2 separate regions of the Homo sapiens genome follow, and region 2 is linked to region 1. The links are contacts of gene promoters, found by promoter capture Hi-C in blood cells and fetal thymus (Javierre and others, 2016). All regions are on one chromosome and are shown on one strand. The core of a region is centred on a gene start or on the middle of the fragment in contact, and the rest is flanking DNA. Distances in the headings are between cores, read along the strand shown. Region 1 holds the start of MRGBP (MRG domain binding protein). Region 2 has its middle 18 kb from the start of NTSR1.

Region 1 (3,352 bases), core at 448-2,947:
GCACCTCGAGTTCTCATCCACGTGGCAGGAGCCCATGGACACCGAGGGTGTCGGTTGGGAGCGCCACAGGCACAGAACCAGGCAAAGAAGAAGAGAGTGCTTGCCAGGCACTGCCCTCCTGAGGTCGCACAGACCAGAGGGAGAGACCTATGTCATACTGATGGCCGGTGTGGCCCTGAGTCCAACGTGGCTGGCACAGACTCTCCACCAGCACAGGTCCCCACTCCTCCTGGTCACCTGACCCCTGACCCCCACCCCACTCTCCAAGTACACCACCTTCTTTGAGCTCCTGGACCCACCACCTCCTGCTGCCACAGGGCCTGGAACACCCACCTGTCTCTTCTGGCCACCCTGCTTACCTAGTTAACCCGCTCGCCCGTCACACAGTGCCAGCTCCAAGCTCTGCGAGGACTGGAACTCTACTTGTCTGACTCCCACAGAAGTCACCAAATTCACCTTGGTGTGACTCAGATAGGGTCACCCTCTGCCTAAAGCACTTCGGGGGCCTCCCAGGAGGCTGACAATGGCCTAAGGGCCCGGGACTCTGCATCCTTCCCTCCCTCCCCAGGGTCTCAGCTGGAGACTCTGGCCCAGCACCCAGTCTAAAGCAGAGCCCCTGAAAAGCTAGCCAGCTGCTAGCACTGTGTTTGTGCTTTCCATGACAGGCTCTGGAGCCCCGGGATGTCCTCCTTAAGGACGAGCCTCACTGCAGGGGTCTCTGCCCAGGGGACCCCAGCAGGCACGGAGGGGCCTCTGCCCAGCTCAGGCTGACCCTGAGAGCTCACTGCAGACCCCAGCAGGCATGGAGGGGCCTCTACTCTGCCCAGCAGACCCCAGCAGACATGGAGGGGCCTCTGCCCAGCTCAGGCTGACTCTCAGAGAGCGGTGTGCGGGTTCGTGCCCCCATCGGGCGGCACAGGGAGGGCGGTTGGGCTCACCAGCGCCTGCATGTCGTACATGGTGCTCAGATGGTCCCAGATGACCTTGGATGGGACCTGCCGCCCGATGTTCTGGCTGAACTTGTCCCGAATACAAATCATGTGGAAGTGTCGGTTCACACCTGAGGGGAGGAGGGGCGGCGGGATAACCGGTGAGCGGTGAGGAGAAAGGGGATGGAGGGGACGGGCTGCCCTGGGGACTGGAGGGGCAAGGGTGGCTGCGGAGAGATGGGGAGGGCCAGGGTGTGGAGGGGCTGTGGGGGGGCAGGGCTGGGTGGTGTGTGTGGGAGGGGGTGGGCTGTCCCGGGGCGGGGGTGGGGGTGGGGCACTGCGGGCTGGGACCTCGCGGTCTCACGGGGGTAGGGGTCGTGGGCGGGGTCCGGGGCGGGGTCCGAAGGGCGCGTGGGAGGGGGCGGGGGTCCCGGGACGGGTGTGGCGGCGGTGTCACGGCCCGGGCTCGGCGGGGAGCGTGGGGGCGAGGGTGTCGCGAGCGCAGGCCCCGCCCCGCCCCGCCGGTTGCCCGCCCCGCCCCCACGCGCGTCCGCAGCCTGGGCGCTCACCGACGGGCTTGTGGCCCAGCATGGCGTGGAAGAGGCACACCTCCACCTCGGGGCTCCACACCACTGTCTCCTCCGCCGGGCTGGTGGCCGCCTCCCCCGGGCCCTTGTCGCCTGCGGCGCCCCCGCCGCCCACCTCGGCCTCTCCCATGGCCGCGGCCCGGCCGAGCAAGGAGCCCCCGGCGGGAGCAGGCGCGGCCACGAGCTCCGCGCAGGCGCACTCGGGGGCGGGCGCGCGCTCCGCCGGGTACGCGCTCGGGCTCACGCGCCGGCGTCGGCGCAGGCGCAGCCGAGGTCTCGGGTCCCTTCCCGCCGGGGACTCCGCCCTGCTCCGCCCCGCGCGGGGGTTCTTAAAACGTGTTCCTCTTTAAAGCACAGTAAGAAATACACTGCACCCAAACAAAAAAGTCTGTGCTTCAAAGGAAACCATCAGAAAAGTGAAAAGACGACCCACAGATGAGAGAAAATATTTGCAAATCCTATATCTGATAATGAACTTCCTTGTAGAAGGTATAAATAATTCTTATAACTCGATAATAAAAAGACAATCTAACTATAAAACGGCTAAGGATTTGGATACACATTTTTCCAAAGAAGATGTACAGATGGGCCGGGCGCGGTGGCTCACGCCTGTAATCCCAGCACTTTGGGGGGCCGAGGCGGGCGGATCACCTGAGGTCAGGAGTTCGAGACAAGCCTGGCCAACATCGTATAACCCCGTCTCTACTAAAAATACAAAAAAAGTAGCCGGGCGTAGTGGCGGGCGCCTGTAATCCCAGTTACTCGGGAGGCTGAGGCAGGAGAATCGCTTGAACCCGGGAGGCAGTGAGCCGAGATCGCGCCATTGCAATCCAGCCTGGGCAACAAGAGCGAAACTCCGACTCGAAAAAAAAAAAAAGATGTACAGATATGGCTAATGAGCACCATCGGTCACGCGAAACTAGAATCAGCCCGCGTGGGGACCCCCTGCCCCGCCGAGACCGCCACAACCACGCGGCCGGGGTGACGAGTGCTGCGAGGGTCAGGGCTCGGGACCCTCGTGCGGTCGTGCTGTGCGGTCAGATGGGCCGCTGCTGCGAAAGACAGTCTGGCCGTTCCTTCAACGATGGAACCGTCTCCCTAGGAAGCAGCAGCTCCGTGGCGGGCGCCCGCGGCAGTGGAACAAGACACAGGTTCAGGCTGGGACCCGCAGCCGCGAGGCAAGCGCCGCCCCCAACCCGGGGCTGAACCTGCGAGGGGCGCCCGGAGCGCGGGCACCCGCACGGCGCAGCCGCGTTCAGCCTAAAAGCAGCGAGCGCGGACTGCGGCAGCGTGGGTGCGGGCTGAGACGAAAGTCAGAGAATTCAGACACGAAAATACACAGCATGGGAATCCATTCACAGGAAGAGCCAGAACTGGCAACTCCATAGGAATAGAAAGTAGATGCACGGTTGCCGGGGACGGGGGAGGGGGAGGGAAACGCGAGTCACTGCGGATGGGGACCGGCTTCTTTTTTGTTTGTTTTTGAGGCAGAGTCTCGCTCTGTTGCCCGGGCTGGGGTGCAATGGCACGATCTCGCCTCACTGCAACCTCTGCCTCTTGGGTTCAAGCGATTCTACTGCCTCAGACTCCCGGGTAGCTGGGACTACAGGCGCTCACCACGGCCGGCTAATTTTTGTATTTTTAGTAGAGACGCGGTTTCACTATGTTGGCCAGGCTGGTCTCGAACTCTTGACCTCAGGTGATCCTTCCTCCTCGGCCTCTCAAAGTGCTGGGATTACAGGCTTGAGCCACCGCGCCCGGCCGGGCCCAGCTTCATTTTAAGGAGGTGAAATGCTCTGGAATTAGATAGTGGCCACGGTTGCTCGCAACAAAACC
Region 2 (3,558 bases), core at 294-2,793, 110 kb after region 1:
CCACTTCTGTTTCACAAGCATGTCCTCTGGAGGGGAATCTGGTGCCTCTTTGTTGGCCGTCACAGCCGGTCAGGCAGCCCTGCTCTGCAGTGGGCAGCTGGCACCCAGGCATAGGAGGGGCCTTGTGGTGGTTTAGCTTCCCAGACTCACGGGGGCCCCGCCCCAGCCCCGCACCTTCTGCGGGGTCACAGAGAGCCCATCCCTCATGGTCTGGGGGATGGGCTGCCCCCCCCCCAGCAACCAGAGGCCCCATTCCCGAGGCCCCAGGGGTGGGTCTTGGGATGGGGGCATCAGCCAGTGTGGAACCCAGAGCCCTTTCGCTGGGCTTGCTGGGAAGGGCGGCCCCACTCACCGGTTGCCAAGTGGGTTCCTGGTGGCCGTGGGCAGAGCTGGGGATGGAAGAGGCACAGAGGTCTGGGGGTGTTGCTCTAGCCCCTGAGTCCTGCCCTGGGCCCTGCCTTTCCTCAAGCTGGTTTGACTTGGATTTTGTCACCTGCAGCTAGACATCGTGAGCGTGGGCACTGGAACCCAGGTGGCCAGCGGGGCCCTCCAGATGCCCCCCGGGGGTCTCTCGCCAGTGGCTCCTGAGCCTCTTACTCCGCAAGTGAAGGCAGGAAATGGTGGGTCCAGCCCACGGTTTCATTTTCTGTAACCAGTTGGAAAATTCTAACAGCGTCGTGCATGAATAGGTTCTTGTCTTCTCTGGAAATTGCAAGGCTTGATAATAACGACATTAGTTCCTGAGATGCTTCAGTCTGAGAAGAGCCGACTGGAGATAATTTGCTGCTTCCTGTGACAGCTAATGATGAGCTTCATCACAGCAGCATGTCGCTGCCACAGACGGATTTGTCTACACAGCCCAGTCACTTCAGAAAACATGTTTGGGCCGAGGCGGGTGGCTCACGCCTGTAATCCAGCACTTTAGGAGGCCGAGCTGGTGGGATCATGAGGTCAGGAGATCGAGACCATCCTGACTAACACGGTGAAACCCTGTCTCTACTAAAAATACGAAAAATTAGCCGGGCGTGGTGGCGGGCGCCTGTAGTCCCAGCTGCTTGGGAGGTTGAGGTAGGAGAATGGCGTGAACCTGGGAGGCAGCGATTGCAGTGAGCCCAGATTATGCCACTGCACTCCAGCCTGGGCAACAGAGTGAGACTCTGTCTCAAAAAAAAAAAAAAAAAAAAAAAAGAAAACATGTTTGAGGAAATGTAATCCTAGGACCTTAGTATTACTTCTTTTAAAACATTCCGGGGCTGTGGTCCAGCTGGTTTCTACTCTGAATGCTCCTGAACAGCCCTGTATTCGGTTCCTTCCCCGGCCTGGGGTCTGCAGAGGCTGCGCTGAAGTCCTGGGGACTCTGTCATTCCCGGCGGGGTGTACTGGAGACCCCCAGGGGCCATCCCAGAGCTGGGGAGCTTCTCCTTTAACAGAAGCGCCGAGGGCAGCCCCCTGAGACCACTCCTCTCCACTGTCAATCGGCCAACGGATCACTGGGGAATTCTTGACTTTGCCACATAATATTAGAACTATAATTTGGGGAAGACTGTGCGCGGGCAGGTGGGTGAGATGTGGGGGCTGACAGTGGAAGCTGTGACGGCAGGCCCGGGAGGGCGGGTTCATGATCCAACCTCATTCCGTTTACCATGTTCGACATTTCCCACAACCAAGTTAACACAACAAAGTCAATAAAACAAAACAAATGAAAGCGCGTTTATTGAATTGCGGTTCTCTGCCTGGAATAGGATGAACTGTCAGGCCCCGAATTGGAAGCCAGTAGGGTGTTTCCTTTCCATTATTAAAGAATAAATCTCAGAATGCGTCCATGAAAGTATCTCGCTGCAGAGTATGGAAATGTTAATTTCCTTTTGCAGTTTCTCTCCTGGTAAAATGAATGGTAAATCTGAGATAATAGTGAGTAATAGCACAGCCAGGGCTCTGGCCTGCGGCTCGGTGGAGGGCGGGCGTGGAGTGAGAGCATGCAGCTCCCTCCTGTTCTGTGGCTGGGATTCCCGGGGCTCCTGCAGAGCCTTCCTTGGCTGCAGGGTCAGAGCCTATGGTGACCTTGTGCAGGTGACACCCTCTGTTGAGCTCCGTCCTCCCATGGAAAACTGTCAACCCCACTCCCCTGGAGTATCAAAGGACTTGATGAGACGTCGGACACCCAGAGGTTGTCTGTCTCCCTGTGGGCCCCTGAGACAGAGGGGAGACTGGGGTCAGGGGCAGGAGGTTTACTGGGAGGACACACAGGAAGCACCGCTGGAGCAGAGAGGTGGCCGATGCGAGGGAGGGGGCCAGGACCATCGCGGGCACCCGAGGCACCATGCAGCTGGGGAATCCACGGCAGACAGGCCCACTCACCAGGCAAGGGGGCTGGGGTCGTTCACCTGCCGCGCAGGCGCAAAGCAGGCACAGAGGCCAGGGAAGCCCATGTGAACAGGAGTGCAGGCGCTGGCTGCAGGCGTCGACTCAGCCCCTGGGGGTGAGGGTGGGGACGCGGGTCCCCCGCATCTGCTCCACCCCTTTCATGATTATTTCTGCAGGTAGGGGTTCCCTCAGGTCCACCCCCTTCCTCGGCCCCAGACATTCCTGGGTGCCCCGTCCCACACATGGAGTGGGGTGAGGATGATGTGGATCCCCCTGCCAGGAACACAAGGAATCGGGCAGCTTGGCAGGATCCCTACAGCTCTGCCTGAGCCCCCGCAAGTTATTAAGGCATGGCGGTCGCCTTCCGGAGGGTCTGGGGGTCTAAGATGACCAGGGCGTCTTTGGAAAGGGGCGGTCCCCAGGAGGGGCTCAATGCGGGGTGGAGACAGCTGCTCAGGTGAGTGCTGTGCTGGGCACCCGGCTCGCTGGGCCCTGCTGGGGCTGGGGTCCCCTCTGCCACGTCCCCCGTAGGGACCTGCTGCTCATCCAGCCTGGGAGGCCATGGGCCAGCACCTGAGGAGGCTGAGCATCTGTCCGTCTGTCCGTTCGGGCAGCTGGTATCCTCAGTGCCTAGGGTGATGTCTGCGAGCCCTGGCTTCTGCACGAGCACCGGTGTGATGGAGGAAGGACTGATGGAGAGAGGGAGCCACTCTGCCCAAGAGACAGGCCTGCGAGGCACGGGGCACAGCCGGGGACAGGCCTGCGAGGCACGGGGCACAGCCGGGGACAGGCCTGCGAGGAACGGGACACAGCCGGCCAGGGACAGGCCTGCGAGGCACGGGGCACAGCCAGGGACAAGCCTATGAGGCGCGGGGCACAGCCAGGGACAGGCCTACGAGGCGCGGGGCACAGCTGGCCACGTGCAGGCCAGGGAAAAATGGGATGAGGGTTTGGAGATGAGGGCCTGACTTGATTCCTTAGAGACCGTCCATTTATGGGAAAGAATGGGGCGCCTCCGGCCACCTGCTGGCTCCAAGACTAACCACAGGAGGAAATGTCAGAGGAAATTAACTGTGCTCGAGCTTTTGTGATGAGCCTGATTTTCCAGCTTCTAGAAAGCTGTGCTTCCATGCTGAGGCTTGTACTCGTTCGGTTTATTGGGAAGAATTAAAGGGCTTCTCGGAAAATGTTAAT

The links. Contacts are between HindIII fragments. The CHiCAGO score rates a contact against its expected background, and 5 or more counts as called.
Region 2: a contact is called between a fragment that was not itself captured here and the fragment with the promoter of MRGBP in region 1, in 1 of 17 cell types (monocytes). The highest score is 8.1, in monocytes.

Annotation. Positions count from the first base shown.
Region 1 is chr20:62,794,818-62,798,169 of GRCh38, reverse strand. It overlaps MRGBP (MRG domain binding protein), which reads right to left and starts at 1,697. Exons shown (of 5, transcript NM_018270.6): 1 at 1,499-1,697; 2 at 939-1,060. The coding sequence starts at 1,646. RefSeq lists a silencer at 1,391-1,930 and an enhancer at 2,554-3,100. The HindIII fragment of the contact is 13,279 bases long and covers 1-3,352 here.
Region 2 is chr20:62,688,869-62,692,426 of GRCh38, reverse strand. It overlaps a transcript of SLCO4A1 not described here. Among named protein-coding and RNA genes, the nearest start is that of NTSR1, 18 kb to the left of the region's middle. The HindIII fragment of the contact is 8,947 bases long and covers 1-3,558 here.